Regions from separate parts of the Homo sapiens genome. Here region 1 is linked to region 2. Evidence: promoter capture Hi-C in human tissues and cell types (Jung and others, 2019). All regions are on one chromosome and are shown on one strand. The core of a region is centred on a gene start or on the middle of the fragment in contact, and the rest is flanking DNA. Distances in the headings are between cores, read along the strand shown.

Region 1 (4,675 bases), core at 1,542-4,041, 150 kb after region 2:
ACAGCGCCCTGCCCCCTCCTCCAGGCCAGCCTGAAGCCAGAGAGAAGGGAGAAAGGGGAGGGGCTAGAGCCCCAGGGGAAAGACTCACCTGACCAGGTGGCACGTTTTCACCTGCAGGGAATTGGAGTTGTCCTTCCGGGATTGTTGGTAGGTGAAGGAGAGGGTTAAGGAGGCCGCTTAACTCTAGAAAGGGAGGCCTGCGTGGAGGGAGGCTGGGGGCGGGGCCTGGTTCTAGGAGACACGTTCTAGGGATGGGGCTTGCGCTCTGCGGAGATGCTGGGGGTGAGGCTTGAGCTCTGGGAGGGGTTGGAGGTGGGGGTGGAGGACTAGGTGCTGAGGGAGGCTGAAAGCAAAGCCTGGGCTCTGGGAGAGAGAGATGCACGGGGCGCACCCAAGCCTGAAGCAGGGGCAGGCCCCAGACTCTAGGGAGAAGGAGGGCAAGGCCTCGGCTGGGGACAGAGCCTGGGGACAGGACCGAGTCGCTAGGAGCAAGGAGGGGGCAGAGCCTAGGCCCTAGTTGGAGGCTGGGACGACGCCTGAGCTCTGGGATAAGGAGTGGCCTATACTTAGGAGCGAGGCTCATTCTGCACCTGGGCTGGGCAGAGGGGCTGCGCATGGGCTCCGACGGCGGGGGCCTTGGCAAGGCCGGCGAAGGATATATGTGGAGCAGCTTGGCCGCCAGCTGAGAGGAGGGGATGTACCAGGGGTGCATCATGAGGAACATGCGCACCAGCTGCGGGTCCCGCACCTTCCCGGAGTCATCTGACTCCGAAGGGTCAAAGACAGGTGGCTGAGCTGGGTCCGCAGCTACCATGCCTCATCCTCACCCCGCAACCCGCCAGGTATCGGTCCTTCGGGTGCACGCTCGACCCCGCCCACCTCCTGCTTGCCCAGGACTCCGAGAGCAGGAGGCAAATTAGAGAGGAAAGGTGTGGTGGGCGAGAGATAGGCACGCCCTGAGGACTGGAGGAGGGGAGCGCCCGAGCCGCCCATCGTCCGGAGGGGAACCAGCTGGGGCGGAAGGAGCCTGGGTTCCCCGGGGTCAAGAATCCAGAGGTCATTTCCTGAGCGCTTGGGGGGAAGGGGCACCCCTTCACCAGATAAGCCGCCCCCCATTAGCCGGAAACAGCTCCCAGGCCGGAGATAGCGAGTTCCTCCGGATTCCCCGGGAGACAGATAATGCCCCTCAAGTGTCAGAGTCCGGGACCCGGCCCTCCCTTCGCCGCCGCTGGGGAAGGCTAGAGAAGGGAAACCTCATCTGTCTGAAGGGCGTGCATCTCTCTGCCCTGCGTTGCGGAGGAGGCTTTCGTTAAAGAGACTGCACGCTGCGGAGCAGGGTGGGTCCGGGTCAGGGCTGTGCCCTGGACTGTGCCTGGGAGGCAGGGACCCGGGCTCAGACTCGGGGCTAGGCTCAGGCTCCGTGTGCCCTCCCGAGCCACTCACCGAAGGCTTCGATGCACCCGCGGAGCAGCTCCTCCACCGTGCAGCCCTTGTCCAGGTCCAGGGTGCCTGCCATGGCCGCCGGCGCGGGGTGGGCTGGGCCCAGGCTGCGCTCCGGGAGCCTCCCACCGGGCTCGGACCGAACCCCTGTCCCGGGAGAGGCAGAGCGGGAGTCTGCGGAGTCGCGGGCGGGGGAGCGGCCCCGCGGGCAGAAACGGGGCGGGGCGGGCACGCCCCCTGCTGGACAGGGGCGGAGTTGTCCCCCGCGGCCACTCCCGGGGTTAAACGGTCTGGCCCGGGATGGTGCAACCCGCCAGTTGGGAAACGGACCCGCAGAGAGGCTTCCGGCCCACCCTCGGAGTCGCGGGAAGGCCGAGGGGCTTCACGAGGATGGGGACGAACCAAGATCCCAGGACTGGCTGGCGCCCAGCCCCCCGCAGGGCGCCTTCTCCTCGCGCCCTCTCCCCAGAGGCACCTGCAGCACCCCGCAGCTCGGCTCTGCGCCCCTCCCGCTTCCCTCCCTCCACAGCCTCCCTTCCCCCGCAGGGTTATTTTGGGAACCCAGAGCCTGAGGGGACCTCGGAGGAATTTCTCCCTGGTATGGGAGGTGGGGGGAGAGAACCCAGGCGTCCTGCCCGCCTCGCCCCCTCCCGGGAGCCCAGGAAGGCGAGGCGGGGCTGCGGCAGCCCCCAGGGGGCCTGCCCTAGGGGAGGCGGACTGGATGGGAGAGGAACATTCCTGGGGCGGGGGGAGCCCGCTGCGGCCAGGAGGCGTCAGCGGGAAGCCTGAGCCTGGGAACTGAGCGCTCCCAGGCCACCTCCGCAAAGGTCCCAGGGGTCCCGGCTCAGCTTGTCCACAGGCCCTCTTCCTCCCTATCCCCGGCTCCTGACCCTGGCCCCGGCCCCGCACAGGCGAACTGTGAGCGCGCACGGAGCAGGGTGTCCAGAGGGGGGCGCTCGCGCCAAGGGTGGCCGGTGGGTGCATGACACCATTAGCAACTCCGGTCACTGGCGGGGTCATACGCACCCTGGCAGGGGCAAACACTCCACACCCAAGTTATTCGTCGGAGGCCGGGGACCTAAGTGGAGGTGCAGGCGTCCGCACTTACACGCACCGGGCCACAGGCACCGGCCTCCCATCCTCCGTCTCTCACACACAATGGCACCCACACCCTGTGCACACCTGCACGAAGAAACCCTCAGGCACACATACCCAGCTCGTCCACCCCAGAATGCAAACCCGCGGACGAGGTCGCCTCCTGGACGTGCTGTTCACTTGAGCCAGGCCAGCCTTGAGTCCCGCGGCCACACAGGCGCTGACATCCTCACACGTGTGCACACACGCAAGGCAGTGCCTCTCCACGCATGTACACTCCCACACACATGCACACACCCCCATGGGTGCGCACGCCCATTCCGTCGCCCCCCTCCCATTTGCGGTGCAGGGCCCGCCCTGCGGCCCCAGCTCCCTGACTCCCCTCACTCCCAGATTTTGGCAGAGCCTTGCCCCACGGAAAGGTACCCCGGCCCTACACATACTCACTCCCCCAGGCTGGAGGACAGGGGAGCTCCTGTACGGAGTTCTCAGGCGGACTTTTCCTAAGAGCCACCCAGAGCCGTCCCCGCCTGGCTCTACCGCTTCCTCGTGTGACCTTGAGAATCACTTGGCCTCTGGGAGCCTCAATTTTCTCATCTGCCAAATGGGGGTACGCGGGGGAGGGCCCCGCTGGAAGGTGGCTGGGAAAAGCTGGGTGCACCGTGGAGGTCCTCCGCCCTCCGGGGATCCAGCGCGCCTTAGCTCTCGTGGCCGCTGCCCCCTCTCCCAGACCCGGGCCGCAGACTCCCCACCCGCTCGCCGCCCCCAGCCCGCCCGCGCCGCCCTGGGCGGGGGGGGAGTCGCTGGGGGCCGCGCCCTCCTTCGCCTGGCGCCCCGCCCGCGCTCGCCCACTCACTCTTGGGACCTGCCGCAAGGAGCCCGCACCGGCCTGGCCGACCCCACCTCCGTGCGCTCCCGCCCGCCGGCCTCGCTGCGGCTGCGGCTCCCGCCCGCTCTCCACGCCGCGGCCCCGCTCCCCGCCGCCCCGCCCCCGCCCCCGCGCCAGGCTGCCCCCTCCCCCCTCCGCCCCTGCGCGGAGCTCCGCACCGCCGGCTGCGCCACCCCCACCGGGGGCTCCCTCTCGCCCCGCACGCGGCGGTCCCTGCGGCAGCTTAACCCCTCCCCTGCCGCGCCGCCCGGGAGGCCAGGGCCGCGGGCGGGGGGCTGCGCCACTAGCTGCCCCGAGGGCGGGCGACCGGAGGCCCCGCCGCCCGGGACGCGGAGGGGGGACCGAAACGAAGAGCCCCTCCCCCAACCGCGGACGCCCCAGTGCCCCCCGCCCTGCCTGGGTGTCGGGCGGAGGAAGCCGGGAGGGGCAGGAAGCGGACTGCGGTGGGGAAGGGGCGCCCCGCCCAGCCCCCAGCTCGGGTTCCTGTTTTCGAGACAAACCGTTCCCATGGGGCTAACCCGGCCCGGGACCGGGCGTCTTCCTGCAGGCAGCGGGTGGCACAGGCCTAGTGGAGGTCGGGGGCGTGGGGACAGCTGGTCCTTGAGATAGTCTGGGGGATGGGCTAGGACAAGATGGGAATATTTTGGGGAGAGGGACCTGTGGGGAGCGAGGAATGAAATCGTGGCTATCTGGAGACGCGGCCTTGATGTCTGGGAATGGGGGCGGGGGGCCCAGTTCACACAGGAGGAACGGGGCCCCGGAAGCCTGGCTCCCCACAGGGTCGAATGGAAAGGGGCAGCCGCATGTGGCGGTGGGTTCTCCGCAGCTCGGAGACTGGAGACCTGGATGCCTGGCCAACAGGGAGGAACTTGGGAGGGGCAGCCGCAGGCGGTTGGGGTCCCCACTAGCCGGGCCTAGGAGAGCGGGTAACGGTTTCCGACCATTTGGCTTCAGACACACTCACTGTGAAACCACCGACCCCAAACCTCCCTTCCGAGGCGTGCCCCTCCCAGCCTTGGGGCGGGGGATCCAGGACCGCCCCCGCACCTCAGTCTTGGTAATGTAAGACTTAGAAACAGGACCTTTCTGTTCCTCAGTTTCCCCATAATGAGGGCCTAGACTAGGCGGTCTGCGAGTGTTCCCTGCCGTAACACTCCCCCGACTTTGGATCCAGTGTAGCCACCTGCTAAGAGACCCTTAAACGCCGCAGTAGGGCGGGGCTAAGGGCGGAGCCAAGAAGGCGCCGAGCAT
Region 2 (5,797 bases), core at 2,774-5,273:
CCACCACCTCTGGCTAATTTTTGTATTTTTACTAGAGGCAGGGTTTCCCCATGTTGGCCAGGCTGGTCTCAAACTCCTGACCTCAAGTGATCCACTCGCCTCGGCCTCCCAAAGTGCTGGGATTCCGGCCGTGAGCCACCACGCCTGGCCCAAGAGAAACACTCGTAATATCCACTAAGAGATCAAGGAAATTATTCCACCTATGAAACAAGAAGTGGAAACTAGGAAACAAGAAGAAGCAGTTATAGGAAGAACCAAACACGGATTCTGAAATGGAAATTACACATTCTGAAATTAAAATGCTGGTGATTTGGGGCTGGGTGCAGTGGCTCATGCCTATAATCCCAGTACTTTGGGAGGCCGAGGTGGGCAGATCAGTTGAGGCCAGGAGTTCGAGACCAGCCTGGCCAACATGGTGAAACCCCATCGATATTAAAAATACAAAAATTAGCTGGGCATGGTGGCACATGCCTATAGACCCAGCTACTTAGGAGGCTGAGGCATGAGAATTGCTTGAACCTGGGCAGTGGAGACTGCAATGGGCCAAGATGGCGCCACTGCACTCCAGCCTGGGCAACAGAGCAAGACTCTGACTCAACTTAAAAAAAAAAAAGTGGAGAAAGCTGCATGAGAAGCATTTTTTTGGGAGAGCTCAGCTTTGGCCACACTAAGTGTGAGATGTTTATTAAGCACCTAAGATTAGGCAGTTGGATCAAAATCTAGCATTCCAAGAAGAGGTACAGGCTAAAGATGTGAATGGACCAGATGATAGAGAATATAGAGAAGACCAAGGAGTGAGCTCAGTGGCCTCCAATGTTAACAGTGTGTGGAGAAGAGGAAAACCCAACCAAGAAGATTGAGAACTAGTGAGTCCTGGAGGCCCAGGGAAGAAAGTATTCTCAGATGGAGATCAGAGACAGATGGCTCAAGTAAGATGAGGACTGAAAATGTCATTGAATCTAGCAGCATGGAGGTCATTGGTGACAGCAGAGTGATAGGGGCAAAACCTTGATGGGAATGAATCCAAAAACAAACAAAAAAATGGGAAGACAGAAACTGGAAATGAGTGTCAATAATACTTTCATAGAATTTTGTTGTAAATACAAGCAAAGGTGGGGCAGTCGCTTAAGAAGAAAGAGGGGCTCAAATGGAGGGGGAGTTTTTGGAAGGCTACAGAAAAAAATGGCATATTTGTACATTGGTGGAAATTATCCAGTAGCGAGGGAAAGACAAATGCCAAAGAGAGATGTGAGCAGGCAAAGGGGGGTGGGCTCTAGGCACACAGTGAGGGGTTGGCATGGATGAGAGAGAAACCAAACTGGGTGGAAGGAAGGCAGAATGTGGGGGCACCAAGGCAGGTGAGCTGGTGAGAGAATTAGACTGTTGGCTTCTGATGGCTTCTATTGTTTTAGTGAAATAAGAAAAAAGGTCATCTATTGAGAGAGAGGATAGAAGAGAAGGTGGTAGGTTTGAAGAGAGAAGATGGTATCAAATAACCCCTGGTTTGTGTGTTCAAATATAAGGGTAACAGAAATAAAACGTACAACTGACAGACCAAGACAGTAGAAGAATATAACAAGAAAACTTAATGGATTCAGTAGAAATTAGGAACAAGGAAACCAAGATTTAAAGGGAAAATGTGGTAAACAAGAAAACATACAGTAAGTCCAAACATGTCAATAATTACAATAAATGTGAACAGGTTAAAATCGCTAATTAAAAGGCAGAGGTATTTCTTTTGGATTTTACAAAAGGAAATGTAAAGCTTATTTGGCAGCTCAAGCTGATGAAGCTAAACATATCAGTTACTAAAACAAAGTCTGCACATATTTACACCAAACTGTAAACAGTAGTGTAACTCACTGGTTGATGAGTATATGAGGGATCTTTATTTTCATTTCAATATGTTCTGAATTTTTGAGGAAGTGTGTAAATTATTTCATAATTAGAAAATAAATGAAATTTTTAAAAAAATCATCCATGCACTTCAGCAAGTCTCCATGGAACCTTTATTTGTTGTCCAAATCAGTTCCAAAGAGCCTCTAAAGAAGGGTTCCAGACTACCAGGAGCTCACTGGAAATAAGACCAACTGGACCATAATAGAAGAATGCAGGTCATGGCTGGGTGCCGCAACTCACACCACTTTGGGAGGCCAAGGCAGGCAGATCACCTGAGGTCAGGAGTTTGAGAAGAATGCAGGACAGTGTAAAGATGAGATTCCACTGACAACTCTGAGCCCTAGTTGTAGGCAGGAATAAGTGAAGAGAGCCCGCTGGAGGAGGAGTATTTGGACTGTGCCCATTCCACACAGTATGTGGCCTAAGGGTGAGCCTGGAGACAGCATTCCAGGCTGGAGGTCCAACATAAGCAAGGGTGGGAACTGAGAAAGCATGTACAGGGCATGTGGTGGAAGCAGTGGATGACTCAAGGTGCAGAGCCCAGGGAGGCAAAGAAGTTGGCTTGGTAAGCCATGTGGAGGGGCAGCGGGAAGAGTCGGTGAAGCAAAAAGAAGCAGATGGGAGGGGCATTTATGCCTCAAATGGAGAGTTTTATGCCCAAAGCTCATAAGAGCAAACACCTGGGTTGCCATCACTGCTGCACTGCACATATACGCATGCACACATGTACACACATGCACTTGTGCAAACACATGTGCACACATACACAGACATGTGCACACACCCACATATACATACACTTCTTTTTTTTCTTTTCTTTTTTTTTTTTTTTTTGAGATAAGAGTCTTTCTCTGTCAACCAGGCTGGAGGGCAGTGGTGCAATCTCAGCTTGCTGCAACCTCTGCCTCCTGGGTTCAAGAGATTCTCCTGCCTCAGCCTCCCAAGTAGCTGGAATTACAGCTGTGCACCACGACCATGCTCAGCTAACTTTTGTATTTTTAGTAGAGATGGGTTTTTGCCATGTTGGCCAAGCTGGTCTTGAACTCTTGACCTCAAGTGATCCCCCCACCTCGGCCTCCCAAAGTGCTGGGATTACAGGCATGAGCCACCACGCCCGGCCATGCACACACACTTTTTAACTGCTTTGTGTTCTCTGGCCCTTTCGCCTACAGAATTAGCTATCGAGACCAAGGGGGTTCTCTTGGCCTCGGTCCAGCCTTTCCTGAACCCCACACCCTGCATCAGCACACACTGCTGTCCACTCACCTGCCCTAGTAAGTCACCACTAGCTGTTGTTGACTGGGAGCCCCTTGGCTTTTAAGCAGGATTTGACCCAAGGGCTCGCAGTGCGTGGTGGGTCCAGGGGCAGGAGTTGAGGCAGAAAGACAAGGGCAGGGACAGCTGTGGAGTGGGGGAGGTGGGAGAGAGAAATCCTTAGGAGGCAAAACTAGCCAGGCTTGGCCCCTGGTGGATTTGGGAGGCAGGGAGCAGGAGGCGTGAACCAAGACGCTGGGTTCCAGGCCAGACACTGTGACATGAGAGGCCATAGCTGAGGTGGGGCTCTGCAGGAGGCATAGATTTGGGGAGGGGACAGAGATCTCAGGGTGGCATTGGGCACACCGAACCTGGGGAGTCTGTGGGGTGTCTGTTGATGCTGGGAAGCTCCACCGAGGACTCAGGACAGGGTAACAGCAAAGCGGGCACAGGACGCCAACCACAGCAGGTGAGTGGAGGCAGGAGCCACGGGTGGGGCCAGGCCACACAGCCTGGGAGGCGCAGGGGCTGGGCAGCTGCCAGTGACCCAAGCCCACACAGAGACTTGCACAGCTGCCCCAGCCCCAAATTAGGGGGATCCCCTGGCCCACCTTCTCTTGGCTCAGCCACTCTGGGAGGTGGGCACACAGGGGCACCGAAGGGAGCAGGCAGCCCTGGCATCCCACAGCCGCCAGGAGAAAAACTTAGGCCTCCCCAAGACCTGGCACAGAGCAGGCCGGCCCTGGCCCCCAAGCAGAGGAGGCTGCACCTCCCTCGCGTCTGTGCCTGCCTCAACGCGGGTTAAACTTTGACCAAGGAAATGATTGCTAAACTCGATTCCATAAGTGTCACCGGTCACACTTTAATTCCAGTCTAAAATTAAAGTCTTCAGTCTCCACATTCCCTACTTTCCAAATTCAGCTTTCCCGGGAGGTCTGGAGCAGCTGCCTCTCTGGGGAGATGCTGGAGGTCTCGGAATCACCTCACGCGGCCTCAGGGCCCAGTTGGAGCCACCCCAAGTGACACCAGCAGGCAGATGACCAGAGAGCCTGAGCCTCCGGCCCCGAGTCTGTGAAGCCTAGCCGCTGGGCTGGAGAAGCCACTGTGGGCACCACCGTGGGGGAAACAGGCCCGTTGCCCTGGCCTCTTTGCCCTGGGCCAGCCTTTGTGAAGTGGGCCCCTCTTCTGGGCCCCTTGAGTAGGTTCCATGGCATTTTCTGAACTCCTGGACCTCGTGGGTGGCCTGGGCAGGTTCCAGGTTCTCCAGACGATGGCTCTGATGGTCTCCATCATGTGGCTGTGTACCCAGAGCATGCTGGAGAACTTCTCGGCCGCCGTGCCCAGCCACCGCTGCTGGGCACCCCTCCTGGACAACAGCACGGCTCAGGCCAGCATCCTAGGGAGCTTGAGTCCTGAGGCCCTCCTGGCTATTTCCATCCCGCCGGGCCCCAACCAGAGGCCCCACCAGTGCCGCCGCTTCCGCCAGCCACAGTGGCAGCTCTTGGACCCCAATGCCACGGCCACCAGCTGGAGCGAGGCCGACACGGAGCCGTGTGTGGATGGCTGGGTCTATGACCGCAGCATCTTCACCTCCACAATCGTGGCCAAGGTAGGGCCTCCCCCAGAGCCACTCGAGTCCCACCACCTTGGAGGTCAGTCATGGATCACGGTGGGTCAGACTCAAAGGTCCAGTCCTGGGAGGGACCCACCTCCCCAGGCCCCACTCACTCTCGAGCCTCTCAGCCCCTCGTCAGCCACACACAGGGAAGTGGGCGGCAGGGATCAGTCTACAAATGGGGCCAGCCCAGGCTCTTGGAGGTGCGGGGGGCACCTGGGCGGGCACCTCTAAATGCTGGCACCTGGACACTCACCGGCCTCACCCTGTCCTGGCCCTGCTGACCTGTCAGCCGTGACTCCAGGCAACTCAGCAGCAGGGGGACTCAGTGACAATTCACTGGATTCCCCGAGACCAAAGCACACAGAGTAAGGGATTACCCCAGGCTGCCTCCCAGATGGGGCGCCAGGCAAAGCCAGGCAAGCAGAGAGGGGCAGCTCATCCCAACAAGTGGGAAGAACCTCTTTATAAAGAACAGGAGGGAAGCAACCTCTGGGAGAGGGGTGAGGGTGTCAGCTTGGGTGGCTGCTTCCAAGTGGAGAGACAGGAGAGAGGGGCAGATGTGGCTAGAGACCCATTGGGCAATAGGGAGCCATGGAAGAGTTCAGGCAGAGGGTGGCAGGATATACTCCTCAAAAGGCCAAACTATGCCTGTGGGTGCCCTCACTGTTCCACAGGGTCTTGCTCTAAAACCCTAGAGGTCACCAGACCACCCACCGCACCCAGCTCCCTGGGGGCCCTCCCATGCGGTTCCTCTGCCTCTCTGCTGGGGCTCTCCCAACCTCCTGAGCTCAGCCTCCTCCTCTCCCATCAGTGGAACCTCGTGTGTGACTCTCATGCTCTGAAGCCCATGGCCCAGTCCATCTACCTGGCTGGGATTCTGGTGGGAGCTGCTGCGTGCGGCCCTGCCTCAGACAGGTGAGTACCCCCAGTCCAGGCAGGTCCCAGTTCCCCTCACAACCCCTGCTCTCCTAGGACCCTGGCCGACTGGCCCCAAACCAGCCTCACAAAACCAAGTCTAGAAAGCGC

What was found. Contacts are between HindIII fragments. The study calls those that stand out against the background at their distance.
Region 1: the fragment with the promoter of RASGRP2 here is called in contact with the fragment with the promoter of SLC22A12 in region 2 in 2 of the 25 tissues and cell types used here (bladder and dorsolateral prefrontal cortex).

What each region holds. Positions count from the first base shown.
Region 1 is chr11:64,741,351-64,746,025 of GRCh38, forward strand. It overlaps RASGRP2 (RAS guanyl releasing protein 2), which reads right to left and starts at 2,792. Exons shown (of 17, transcript NM_001098671.2): 1 at 2,653-2,792; 2 at 1,444-1,587; 3 at 660-762; 4 at 89-151. The coding sequence starts at 1,516. RefSeq lists silencers at 1,459-1,788, 2,099-2,148, 2,309-2,358, 3,349-3,458, 3,709-3,908 and 1 more. The HindIII fragment of the contact is 18,641 bases long and covers 1-4,675 here.
Region 2 is chr11:64,587,197-64,592,993 of GRCh38, forward strand. SLC22A12 (solute carrier family 22 member 12) reads left to right here and starts at 4,024. Exons shown (of 10, transcript NM_144585.4): 1 at 4,024-4,762; 2 at 5,583-5,686. The coding sequence starts at 4,361. The HindIII fragment of the contact is 41,401 bases long and covers 315-5,797 here.